2 separate regions of the Homo sapiens genome follow, and region 2 is linked to region 1. Evidence: promoter capture Hi-C in 16 types of primary human blood cells and fetal thymus (Javierre and others, 2016). All regions are on one chromosome and are shown on one strand. The core of a region is centred on a gene start or on the middle of the fragment in contact, and the rest is flanking DNA. Distances in the headings are between cores, read along the strand shown.

Region 1 (6,267 bases), core at 2,932-5,431:
GAGCCACCGCGCCCGGCCAAAAAAGAAGAGTTTTGAAGAGTAGACTGATGTCAGGTAATGAAGGACCTCGAAGGTCATACCATATATACCATATATAGGTTGGGCTTTATACTATCATAAATGGACCATTACAGGGTTTTTGTTTTTGTTCTTTTTTAACAGGGAGTAACACAGAATTAGTAGCCTATATGAGAGACAGAACGTATGAGCTAGAAAGTAGAATGAGCTAGATGCAAAAGAAATAACAGCTGCTCTTGTAAGGGTACCCAGGCTGGAGTGCAGTGGTGTGATCTCCGCTCACTGCAACCTCCGCCTTCCGGGTTCAAGCGATTCTCCTGCCTCAGCCTCCAGATTATACGCGTCCACCACCATGCCTGGTTTTTTGTCTTTTGTTTTTTTTTTTGTATTTTTAGTAGAGATGGGGTTTCGCCATGTTGGCCAGGCTGGTTTCAAACTCCTGGCCTCAAGTGATCCACCCACCTCGGCCTCCCAAAATGCTAGGATTACGGGCGTAAGCCACTGCGCCCAGCCAAGGGGGATCATTCTTTTCTTGAGGCCAGAGCACTTATGGCCAGAGTTTCAATTAAGGGACCTTGAATGCTTGGTAAGCAGAGAATCAAGGCAAGATAGGGAAAAAGCTTGAGAGCAACTCTATGATTTAGGTTAGACAGGGTAGATGGACTACCCTACAGCAATGTCTATCACTCTAGGGATAATAATCTTTATCTTTCAAATTCAGTCATTTTATTTATTTTTATAGAGATGAAGTCTCACTGTGTTGCCTAGGCTGGTCTCGAACTCCTGCACTCAAGCAATTATCCCACCTTGGCCTCCCAAAGAACTGAGATTACAGGTGTGAGCCAGCACACCCTGCCAGTCTTTCTCCTTTAGCAAAATCCTGCCAACAGCCTGTTTTGAGGTTCCCATTTTTAGACTCCACACAGGCCAGCCCTTCTATTAGTACTGTCTTTCTGAAAAGAGAAACAAGTGATTATTCACTTTCCATAATTCACTAGTTCTCCACTGCCACCACATTAGTCTGCACTACCATCTCTCACCTGGATTCTTTTTTCTTTTTTTCTGATATCCTTGGCAACTGCTAAATCACCTGGATTCTTGAAATGGCCTCCTAACTGCACTCCCTCCTTCCATTCCCCATTAAATTTATTCTCCACGTTGTAATGAGAAGGATTGTCTGCTCAAAACTCTGCAATGCTCTGCTCAAAATCCTGCAATGGCTTATTCTTTCATTCTAAGTAAAAGTCTTTTAACTAAAAGACTGCATGATGGCATGGATCTGCACTCCCCCTCTTCCTTACTCTTTCCACAGCCTCTTGCCATTCCTCAGATATGATAAGCATTGGCCAATCTCAGGGCCTTTGCACTTGCTCTTCACTCTGACTGGCAATTTCCTCAGATATCCACACAGCTTGTTCTCTTACTTTTTTTGGGGGACTCAAATGCCAGTTAATCTGAGAAGGCTTCCTTGACCAACTTATGTAAAGCAGCATCCCTCACACCAACATGCTGTATTGCCTTTTTGCTGCTTTTTCTTCATAGCACTTATCACCACTTCCACTTTTACTATTAAATATTTGCTTATTATTTATCAAACACTGCATCCACCCCAGCTAAGAATGTAAGCTCCAGGAGAGGGGCTTTGGTTCACTGCTATATCCCTGGCACCTGGAAATGCGTCTGGCATTTCGCAGACATTCAGTATTTATTGAATGAATGAATTCCAGTCAGTCTTGGCTTTTTGACACCTCGGCCTCCTACTCTCCTATCTCTTCAGACACATGGTGACAGATCAATGCTATGATGCCCCTCTCCCAAGCAGTAGCTAACCTTTATTGGGCACTCAGGGCCATCTACATTGCTAGGAGCTTTACATGAATTTTCTCATTTGATCCTAACAGTATGAGAAAGTAAGTACATACTATGTTATTCTCATTTTACTGATGAGGATCTGATGCACAGATTAAAGAACGTGCTAATACATGGTGCGGCCGTGGCTGGCAATCAAGCAGCTTGACTCTAAACCTGTGCCCTTAGCCACAAAGCTTGGGTGGTAGAAGCTCCTGTGAGGCTTTGGACTCACAGACAGCTGAAGTCAAGAGTGAAGAGGGCATAGCAATGATGGCCTGAGGGAGAGAAAATTTTGAAAAAGTGTTTACCCCTTATATATTTAAGTTGGTATCTAACTGGTTCCATCATAAATTCAAATAGTTGCAATGGATGTAAATTCTTGCAAATTGTAAATACTGACATTTTAAGATAAAACTGTTAAATCACTCTTTATAATGTATCCAAGAGAATCTACATAACAACTGAATAACCACCATTATGCATTAAAACATACACTAATGAGCTCTTCAACATTGTTCTTTTATTATCTCTAACATATTTAGATTGTACTCTAACAAAAAATGTTATTCAAATATAGTACTTTGATGTTTGAACAACCTTTTCTTGATCACTTCTTCGCAATAAAAATATGACATATGTAGTAAACCTTAAAAAATTTCGTGTAACTTTATGGCTCTACGCTGGAATTCTTCTGAAGTGAGTAATCATCACAATCATCTTTAGTATATAATGGATCAAAATGACACGATTGCAAATATTGATAACACACAGTTATAAAAGGTGAAATTCTATTGGGAACACATCTCTTAGTGAGATAGATGGGGCTGACCCACCAATTAATTCATTTATCTGGATGAATAGTTCCTACTGGTAGATTAACAGGGTTCATTTTCAATTCTGTTGTTTTCACAGATACAAGTGCTGAGAAATGGTTTTACATAAATAGGTGAGAATGCTAGTAGTTTTGTTGTAAGCATGTCAATCAATCGTTTGGTTTCTTTCCGAGTTGCATGCCAAAAACCAAATAGTGTTCCTTCATCAGCTGACAATTCATGGGCCACCATTAATTTTGTTGAAAGCAAAGAACTGGAAACCATCTGACTTGAAAAGAATTTGTTATCCTGTTATTAGAGTCATTCACTTTCTCTAGTGACTTTTAATTATACTAATTACTCTCAGAGGCATTTAGGCAGGGTTGAGAAATTCAAGATATTAATTTCAACACATCTTTAGCATCACAATATCACAGTAATTTAAATATATTTTAGTTGTAGCTATTTAGCTCACTTTATTGTAAATAATAATTATGCTAATTAGCAACGATAGTATGTTTAACCAATTAATCATCAGATTAACTTTCGGTCAGAATAATGGACTTCAATTTTTAAGTCAAAGCAATGTACAGGCGTCCCAGTCACCATATTTCACTTCTGAATTCCAAGAGAGAAATGGCGTTGCGCCTTACTGACGCAAATATGTACCTAGATAAAGTAAGACGCTTTCATTTCAGGTATGTCTAACCCACGCTATCCTTGCTTTGTTCCAGGGCACTCTCGCAGGGAAAACGCCGCCTCTGACTACACTTGGGGTGGTTAAGACGAGATCTTCAAATGAAAATTCTCAACGCTACCGTCCACTCTCTCATACGCTTGAATTCCGAACACCCCAATACTGGCCAAAAGACTCCATTTCTCATGCTTGGTCTTGCTTTTGAGGTAGCTCTAACTCAGAGGCACGATTTTTAGAGCCTGGGAAGTCGGCTGCTGTTCAGTCCTTCCTAGCCTCCTCAGGCGGGAGCCGCGGCCCACTCAGTCAGTTGCGGCCCACTCAGTCAGTTCCGGCCCCAGCCCCGACTACCTGTCGCCTTGTTGGGGGAAGGAAGGCAGATACCGCAGCCCAGTCAGGGTAAGCCGCTGACCCAGAGGATGGAACTGCGGCTCTGGAGATTAGAAAGAGGAGGACTTCGCCGCGTTCACTAGCCCAGGAGGAAAGCCAGAACCCTAGGCCGGAACCCAGCGTCAAGACGTGGGGGAAGAATGTTGATGCAACACAGCTCAGCCGGGCCCGGAACTCGGCGTTTGGGTCCCCGCCCTCTTTGGGCCGGAAGTGAGGAAGGTGGGGCTGGGGCTTTTCCTGTAGAAACTAGGAGGGACTAGGGAGAGTCTGCAAGGGGAAGAGTGTGTCTGTGACACTGCCAGCAGCGCGCAGAGGGAGGGATGGGGGCGGGTATCGGCGTAGGGGCCCTCGGAAAGAACGGATATTGCTGTGACACCGCGGGGACGCTCTGAAGGGACGAGTGTCGGTGTGGCACCGGTGCACGCTGAAGGAGCCGGCGGAACCGGGTGGCCATGGGGATGTGGGCATCGCTGGACGCTTTGTGGGAGATGCCGGCCGAGAAGCGTATCTTCGGGGCCGTGCTGCTCTTTTCCTGGACAGTGTATCTTTGGGAGACCTTCCTAGCACAGCGGCAGGTGAGCCTAGACAGGGTCCAACCTGACCCCCATACCCGGCCAGCCCTGGAGTAGCCTTGGCTTCGACCCTGAGACTCTTGATTGCTTCGGTCCCCGCGCCAGTCTCGTCTTTGTGGTCCCTGCTGAGTCTCGTAACTTGGCCCGATGGCGGACTGTGGCTTTGAGGAGGGTCTTGGTGCGTCAAGGAAGTTTTCTGTAACGTTATCATGGGACCCAATCCCTTTAGGGCCTGGAGGAAGGCTTGGGCTCTTGTGCCCTCCCTGCAGCTTCCTTGGGATCCTTGGGCCCAGACTTGGCCTCCTTTATCTTTGGAATAAGCCTTTAAAAGGATTTAGACACCCAACTTCCTCATGACATTTATGTAATCATGCCTAACCATAGGATTTTGCAGTCCTTCCAAGAACTTGCACTCTTGTTTCTCCTTAAAGTGCATATATTGTTTCTGCTTGAAAAAACAAACAAACAAACAAAAAACTTATCGGGCCCGGCGTGGTGTCTCATGCCTGTAATCCCAGCACTTTGGGAGGCCGAGGCGGGCGGATCACCTGGGGTCAGGAGTTCGAGACCAGCCTGACCAACGTGGCGAAAACCCGTCTCTACTAAAAATAGAAAAATTAGCCGGGTGTGGTGGCGCGCACCTGTAGTCCCAGCTACTTGGGAGGCTGAGGCAGGAGAATCATTTGAACCCAGTAGGCGGAGGTTGCAGTGAGCTGAGATTGTGCCACTGCACTCCAGCCTGGGCGACAAGAGTGAAACTCAATCTCAAAATAAATAAATAAATGAAATTAAATGAAATATATTTCTCGTTTTTCATAAAATCAACATTATTTTAGTTTAAATATTAAAATGGTAAAATAAAAAGTGAAAGTTAACAATTTACCTGAGATAACCATGGTTTAGAGATCTGAACTTTTATTTATTTATTTTTAATCTTTATTTATTTATTTAATTTTAGAGTCTAGCTCTGTCACCAGGCTGGAGTACAGTGGCGTTATCTCGGCTCACTGCAAGAAACTAGGAGGGACGAGGGAGAGTCTGCAAGGGGAAGAGTGTGTCTGTGACACTGCCAGCAGCGCGCAGAGGGAGGGATGTTCAAATGATTCTCCTGCCTCAGCATCCCGAGTAGCTAGGATTACAGGCACGTGCCACCACGCCCAGCTAATTTTAGTATTTTTAGTAGAGACGGGGTTTCACCATCTTGGCCAGGATAGAATATTTATTGTATTTAGAGACAGGGGCTCACTCTGCCACCCAGACTGGAGCACAGTAGCATCATCATAGCTCAAGGCAGCCTCGAACTCGTGGGCTCAAACGACCCCTCCACCTCCACCTCAGCCTTCTGAGTTGCTAGGACCACAGGTGCGGATCACTGTGCCTGGCTAATTGTTTGATTTTTTTGTAGAGATGTTGCCCGGGGTGGTCTGGAGTTCCTGGACTCAAGTCATCTTGCCGCCTCCACCTCCCAAAGGGCTGGGATTACAGGCATGAGCCACCGTGCTCGATCTCCCCTCAGCTTTTATTGGCACACAACAATATATAGGGAAAGCATGTTGTAGTGGCCCATTATTTTGTTTGGTATCCATTCTCTGTATTACATTTCCTGGACTGAAATTACCCTTACCTTTTATAATTTAGTATAATGAGATAGTTGATCTTTCTCCTTTTTTTTTTTTTTTTTTTTTTTTAAGGAGATAGATTCTCTGTCACCCAGGGTGTAGTGCTGTGGCACAATATGGGCTTACTGCAACCTCTGCCTCCCAGGCTCAAGTGATCCTCCCACCTCAGCCCCCCAAATAGCTGGGACCACAGGTGCATACCACCACACTCTGCTAATTTTTGTATTTTTTGTAGAGACGGGATTTCACCACATTGCTCAGGCCAGTCTTGAACTCCTGGGCTCAAGGAATCCTTCTGCCCCTGTCTTCCA
Region 2 (6,085 bases), core at 1,315-3,814, 410 kb after region 1:
TTCTCATCCTTCCTTTTCTTTGGGGCACCTCCCAGGACCTCACAGGCACCACGGCGCCCCCTGCCCTGCCCTGCCCTGAAGCAGTTCCAGGAACGTCAGATGGTAAGAGAAGAAACGACTTACAAACGTCAAGTCCATTTTACAGATGGAAAATCTGAAGCTCAGATAGGAGAAAAGACTTGCCCAAGTGCCTGGTATGAAGAGAAAGACTTTATAATGTCCCTTTCAGACAGAAGGAAGTAGAGTGGCCGGCCCTGAAGCCCAAGTTAACCTGCTTCCCCTGCGCTCTCTACTTCTAGAGCAATGGTTTTAAACTTGGGGCGATTTTGCCCCCCAGGGAACATTCGACCATGTCTGGAGACATTTTTGGTTTTCCCAACGAGGAGGTTGCTACTGGCGTCTCATGAGAAGAGACCAGGGATGCTGCTACACGCCTTCAATGCACAGGACAGCCCCTGCGCCAGAGAATTGTCAGGCCCGAAATGTCAGCAGGTTTCTGAGGTTGAGAAACTCTGTTCTAGGGCCTGGCATCTGCCTATATAAACTTCCAAATAGACTCCTGGAGTCCTGGGTTCTTCTGCAGCCCGGGAGGATACTGTATGAAGTCTTTCCTAGGGTCGTGCCTGCCCCAACTTGTATATTTAACCTTGCTTAGGACTGGTCAGTTCCACTCTTGGGCTCCAGTGTTTTGAATTCCACCCACTGACAGAGAGGACAGAATAATTAATATTTGCTGGAGGCATGTAAAACCAGTAGTCTCCCTGCTGAGGGCATGAATTAAAATGTAAATGGGAGCTGGGTGCGGTGGCTCATGCCTGTACCAGTGTTTTGGGAGGCCAAGGTGGGTGGATTGCTTGAGGCTGGGAGTTCGAGATCAACCTGGCCAACATGGTGAAACCCCATCTCTACTAAAAATACAAAAATTAGCCAGGTGTGGTGGCACACAACTATAGTCCCAGCTACTCGGGAGGCTGAGGTACGAGAATCACTTGAACCCAGGAGGCGGAGGTTGCAGTGAGCCGAGGTCGCACCACTGCACTCCAGCCTGAGTGACAGGGGGAACTCTGTCTCAAAAAAAAGTAAATGGGGAGTGGGAAGGTGGGGAGAAAAAGGAAAATTATTGGGATTAAAGGATCCTCCTGGGGATTGCTAGGAGGCATAGTCATCCTACGCCTTCCCTTCTCACCTGGTCTGTGAGAAGCATAAACTGAGGCCCTACAATGTGAAAAGCCTCAAAGTGCGTTCCATAGCTGGTCAGAGGTGGAGCTGGGGCTCCTGATTATATTTACATATTAATTAAAGCTTTGTTATCAGCTATTCTACCTCAGGCCTAGGCCTGGACTAGGGCCTGGGTGGTAGAATGGGTTACTCTGGAGCAGCAAGGGGGACTAGATTAGGGGAGGTGGGATGGAGGCCAGGGCAGGACCTGGAACGAGGGTGGAGGTGAGGGGTGGGAGCACAGAGAGGAATCAGGCTTCCTGTGTGCTCCTCCCTGGCCCCTTTCACAGAGACAGGTAAACCAGGGGTTCCCTTTGCACATCTGATGAAAACTTAGCACTATCTCTCTGGAGATGTGCAATGTATATTTTGCATATAATTTCAGTATCTTCAAAGTTCTATATTGGTTACCAGAAGGACTGGATGGGAGGTGGGTGGAGAGGGGGTTGATTCTTAAGTGTATATAGAAGAATAAACATACAGGAATAAAAAGTCCAGGAAGAAAAGTAATGAAAAGGGATTTGTCTTACCCGATACTAAAACATACTATAAAGTCAATGTATTTAAAGCAGTATGGTATTGAAGCAGGACTAGACCGATCTGTGGAACAAAATGGAGTATGGAAATGGATCCAGCCCCACAAGGGAATTCAATGTATGATAAAGATAGCACTTCAGGCCCGGCACAGTGGCTCATGCCAGTAATCCCAAAACTTTGGGAGGTTGAGGCGGGCAGATCACTTGAGACTAGCCTGGGCAACATGGCAAAACTTTGTCTCTATAAAAAAATACAAAACTTGTGGCCGGGGGCGGTGGCTCACACCTGTAATCCCAGCACTTTGGGAGGCCGAGGCAGGCGGATCACAAGATCAAGAGATTGAGACCATCCTAGCCAACATGGTGAAACCCTGTCTCAACTAAAAATACAAAAATTAGCTGGGTGTGGTGGCATGCACCTGTAGTCCCAACTACTTGGGAGACTGAGGCAGGAGAATCGCTTGAACCCAGGAGGCGGAGGTTGCAGTGAACTGAGATCGCACCACTGCACTCCAGCCTGGTAACAGAGCAAGACTCTGTCTCAAAAAAAAAAAAAAAAAAAAAATTTATCTGGGCATGATTGCACACACCTGTAGTCCCAGCTACCAGGGAGGCTGAAGTGGGAGGATTACCTGAGCCTGGGAGGTCAAGGCTGCAGTGAGCTGTGATCACGCCACTGCACTCCAGCCTGGGCAACAGAGCAAGACCTTGTCTCTAAATGAATGAATGAATAAAAGACAGCACTTCAGACAAATGGGGGGCGGAGTTGGTAGGGGGTTGTGGGCGGGGGGGGGGGGGTTGGTGGCGGAGATCAAATGGGTGGAATAACCAGCAAGTCTTTTGGGGAAATTACAAAAAGCTGTGCCCTTATTCGACACTGAAATAAATTCCAGGTGGACCACATATTTAACACCATAATGTATCAGAAAAAAGACATGAGTGAATATTTTAATAATCTTGGAGATGGAAAAGACTTTCTAAGCATGATGAAACCTAGAAGCCATAAGAGAAAACATGGAAATGTTTGACTACAAGGCTTCTATACAGAAGAAATGGCCATAAGTCAGTTTGAAAGACAAATGACAAAACGGAGGGGATATATCCTGGTTGCCCCCTACCCTGTCCCCTCCTGCCCGCCAGCCCCTCCAAGCCGAGACGGGGACGAGCAGGAGGGATGGCTGGGGCTGTGAGAGTCGAGACCGAGCACCTGGCAGAGGCTTCTCCTGCGGCGCTCTGGCCAGCGCCCACATGTTTAGGGGCCGGGAAGTCCCGGAAACCCCAGGCGGGCCATCTGGGTCCTCAGCAGGTGCCTTGGCACAGCCGAGCCGAAGTCCTCCTGGAGGCTGCTCACCACTTCCCTCGCGTGGCCATCCTAAGAACTGCAATCCTCTGTTCCTGCTCAGCCCCTTCTGAGCATCAAGGCGAGAATTTAAAAATAAATAAATAACAGCTAATTTTTTGAGGGAACTAACCATGTTCCAGGCATTGTGTTAAACACTTAACCTAGCATATTTCATTTTCCCCTCAAAACAGCTCTTCGAGGTAGGTGCACTGTATTCTTATCTCCATTTGATGGACGGAAACTGAGGCTTGAAAAAAGTGACTTGTCTTTCTAAGTGGTGGCACCAGAATTTACTGCCACATTCCTGGCCTCAGCTCTTAATGTAATAAAGCCAAACCTTTGGGAAAATTCAATAAAACAAACTTTTTTGAGGTTTACCTTTATCCAGGCCTTTTGCAGGTGCTGGGGATTCTGAATTGAGGAAAATAGTCATCAGAGGTGACAGCAGAGGAACACTCCTGATACAGCGAATCCTGATGGCTACAGAGGACTCATTCACCCCAGGAAGCGGTGGGGGCAGTGGGGAGGGATCCCAGAGGAGACGTCCTCCAAGCTGCATCTTGTGGAGAGAGAGTAGTGGGGTGGCACTTACTAAGGTGGGCTGGATGACAAGTGGGGCTTGGGGGAGGAGCAGTGATCTATATGCTCTGAGTTTGGGGGTAGACCACAGATGGGGCTGAATAAAGTACACCAGGACCAAGCTAAGGAGTTTGGGTGCAAAGATTTTTTTGAAAGCTTTTCCATGTTTCAGTTGCTTGGGTCTAGGGACAGCCTGCTCTGCCAACCCAACCTGCCTCCTTTGCAGATGCTTTCTCACCCCAGTTCAAGGTGCTCTCAGAAACTTGGGAGTCCCTCCTGATTCCTTCCTCTTCCTCACTTCTATCCACTTAATTATCAGAGCCATCCAGTTTGCTTCCTAAATACTTCCTAGGTTCACCCACTTCTCTCCATCCCTCTTGCCTCTCCTCTAGTCCAGCCTGCCTTCCTGTCACTCCTGAATTCAGCTGCTGTTGGTGACTTGGTCTCACCACCTTCAAACTTTTACACAAGAGAAATCCTTCTAAAACAAATCTGACCACATCCCCTCTCTTACTGAAAATGCTTTTCATTGATTCATTCAACAAATATCAAGTATTTATTATATGTTGAATATTCAAGATATAATTATGAGCAAAACATGGAATTTAAAGCCTATGGGGGTGACAGACATGAACCAAATCACCCCCTAAATAATTGTATAATAAAAACTGGGTTAGATGCTATGGGAGGGACTGGCCTAGACAGGGAGATCTTTGAATGCTCCCCAAGGCATCCCATCTGAAGCTTGAATAGCAGTCAGCCAGATCAACAAGCCAAGGATGGGTAAGAGCTTACACAAAGGCCCTGAAGTTGCTTCTCTGAGTTTCTGTTTCCTTGTCTGTATAATGGGAATATTTAGAGTTATGAGGATTAAATGAGTTAATATGTGTAAAGTTCTTAGAACAGACCTTAGGATATAAATTTTCCATAAGTGTTAGTTATAATTTTATATATATATATATATATATATATATATATATATTTGAGATGGAGTCTCACTCTGTTACCCAGGAGGCAGTGGCGTGATCTCTGCTCACTGCAATCTCCGCCTCCCAGGTTGAAGCAATTCTTCTGCCTCAGCCTCCTGGGTAGCTGGGATTACAGGCATGTGCCACTACGCCTGGCTAATTTTTGTGTTTTTTGTAGAGATGGGGTTTCACCATATTGGCCAGGCTAGTCTTGAATCCTGATCCACCCACCTCAGCCTCCCAAAGTGCTGGGATTACAGGAGTGAGCCACTGCGCCTGGCCAATAACTTAATAATATATATTTTTTTAAGTGGAGAGATATTGGAAATCTTTCAGCAAAGGAGTTAAAGGAGAAAGTAGCATTTTTTAAATGTCACTCCAGCTGCAATGAGGAGCATGGATTAGTACAAAGAAAGAGCAGATTTGGGGAAACTAATGAGACTTTTGCAGGGGTCCATTGAGAGCTATGGGGATTTGGGCTAGGGAGGCAGAGGGAAATTGGAGAGATTTTGTGGTTTAGGTAGTAGACACTGCTGGACTTGCTGTTTTATTGGTAGTGGGAGGCTGTAGGAGGTAGGTGGTCCCTACAACTGGTTGGGTGGTGATGTTCTTCACCAAGACAGGGAAGCCTGAATGATGCCTAGGCCTTGGGGGGGATGCTGATTCTGGATGTGTTTAGATGCACACACTGTGGGACATCCCAGATGAGGGCTGCATAGGCAGCTGATTCACTGTGGAGTTCAGAAGAGAAACTGTGGCTGGAGATACAAAACTAAGATTGTTGGTGATATGGTTTGGATCTGTGTTCCCACCTAAATCTCATGTCAAATTTGTAATCCCCAGTGTTGGAGGTGGGGCCTGGTGGGAGATGATTATACTAGGGGTGGTTTCTCATGAATGGTTTAGCACCATCCCCTTGGTGCTCTTCTCATTATAGTGAGTGAGTTCTCATGAGATCCAGTTGTTTAAAAGTGTGTGGCACCACCCGACCACTCTGTCTTGCTCCTGCTCCTGCCATGTAAGACGCGCTGGCTCCCCCTTTGCCTTCAGCCATGATTGGAAGCTTCCTGAGGCTTCCCCAGAAGGCAAGCAGATGCTAGTATCATGCTTCCTGTACAGCCTGTGGAACTCTGAGCCAATTAAACCCCTTTCCTTTCTTTTCTTTTTTTTTTTTTTTTTTTGATGGAGTCTCACTCTGTCACCTAGGCTTAGGCTGGAGTGCAGTGGCGTGATCTCAGCTCACTGCAACCTCCACCTCCCAGGTTCAAGGGATTCTCCTACCTCAGTCTCCCAAGTAGCTGTGACTACAGGCATGTACCACCATGCCCAGCTAATTATTTTTGGTAGAGACAGGGTTTTACCATGTTGCCCAGGCTGGTCTCGAACTCCTGATCTCAAGTGATCTGCCCACCTCAGCCTCCCAAAGTGCTGAGATTACAGGC

What was found. Contacts are between HindIII fragments. The CHiCAGO score rates a contact against its expected background, and 5 or more counts as called.
Region 2: a contact is called between a fragment that was not itself captured here and the fragment with the promoter of ZMPSTE24 in region 1, in 1 of 17 cell types (neutrophils). The highest score is 5.4, in neutrophils.

The regions. Positions count from the first base shown.
Region 1 is chr1:40,254,055-40,260,321 of GRCh38, forward strand. ZMPSTE24 (zinc metallopeptidase STE24) reads left to right here and starts at 4,182. Exons shown (of 10, transcript NM_005857.5): 1 at 4,182-4,340. The coding sequence starts at 4,218. RefSeq lists enhancers at 3,413-3,542, 3,773-4,042, 4,123-4,402, 4,493-4,592. The HindIII fragment of the contact is 15,848 bases long and covers 2,062-6,267 here.
Region 2 is chr1:40,665,953-40,672,037 of GRCh38, forward strand. It overlaps LOC105378675 (a long non-coding RNA gene), which reads left to right. Exons shown (of 2, transcript XR_947238.3): 2 at 36-1,724. It also overlaps a transcript of RIMS3 not described here. Among named protein-coding and RNA genes, the nearest start is that of RIMS3, 3.3 kb to the left of the region's middle. RefSeq lists enhancers at 2,959-3,108, 3,169-3,218. The HindIII fragment of the contact is 2,529 bases long and covers 1,301-3,829 here.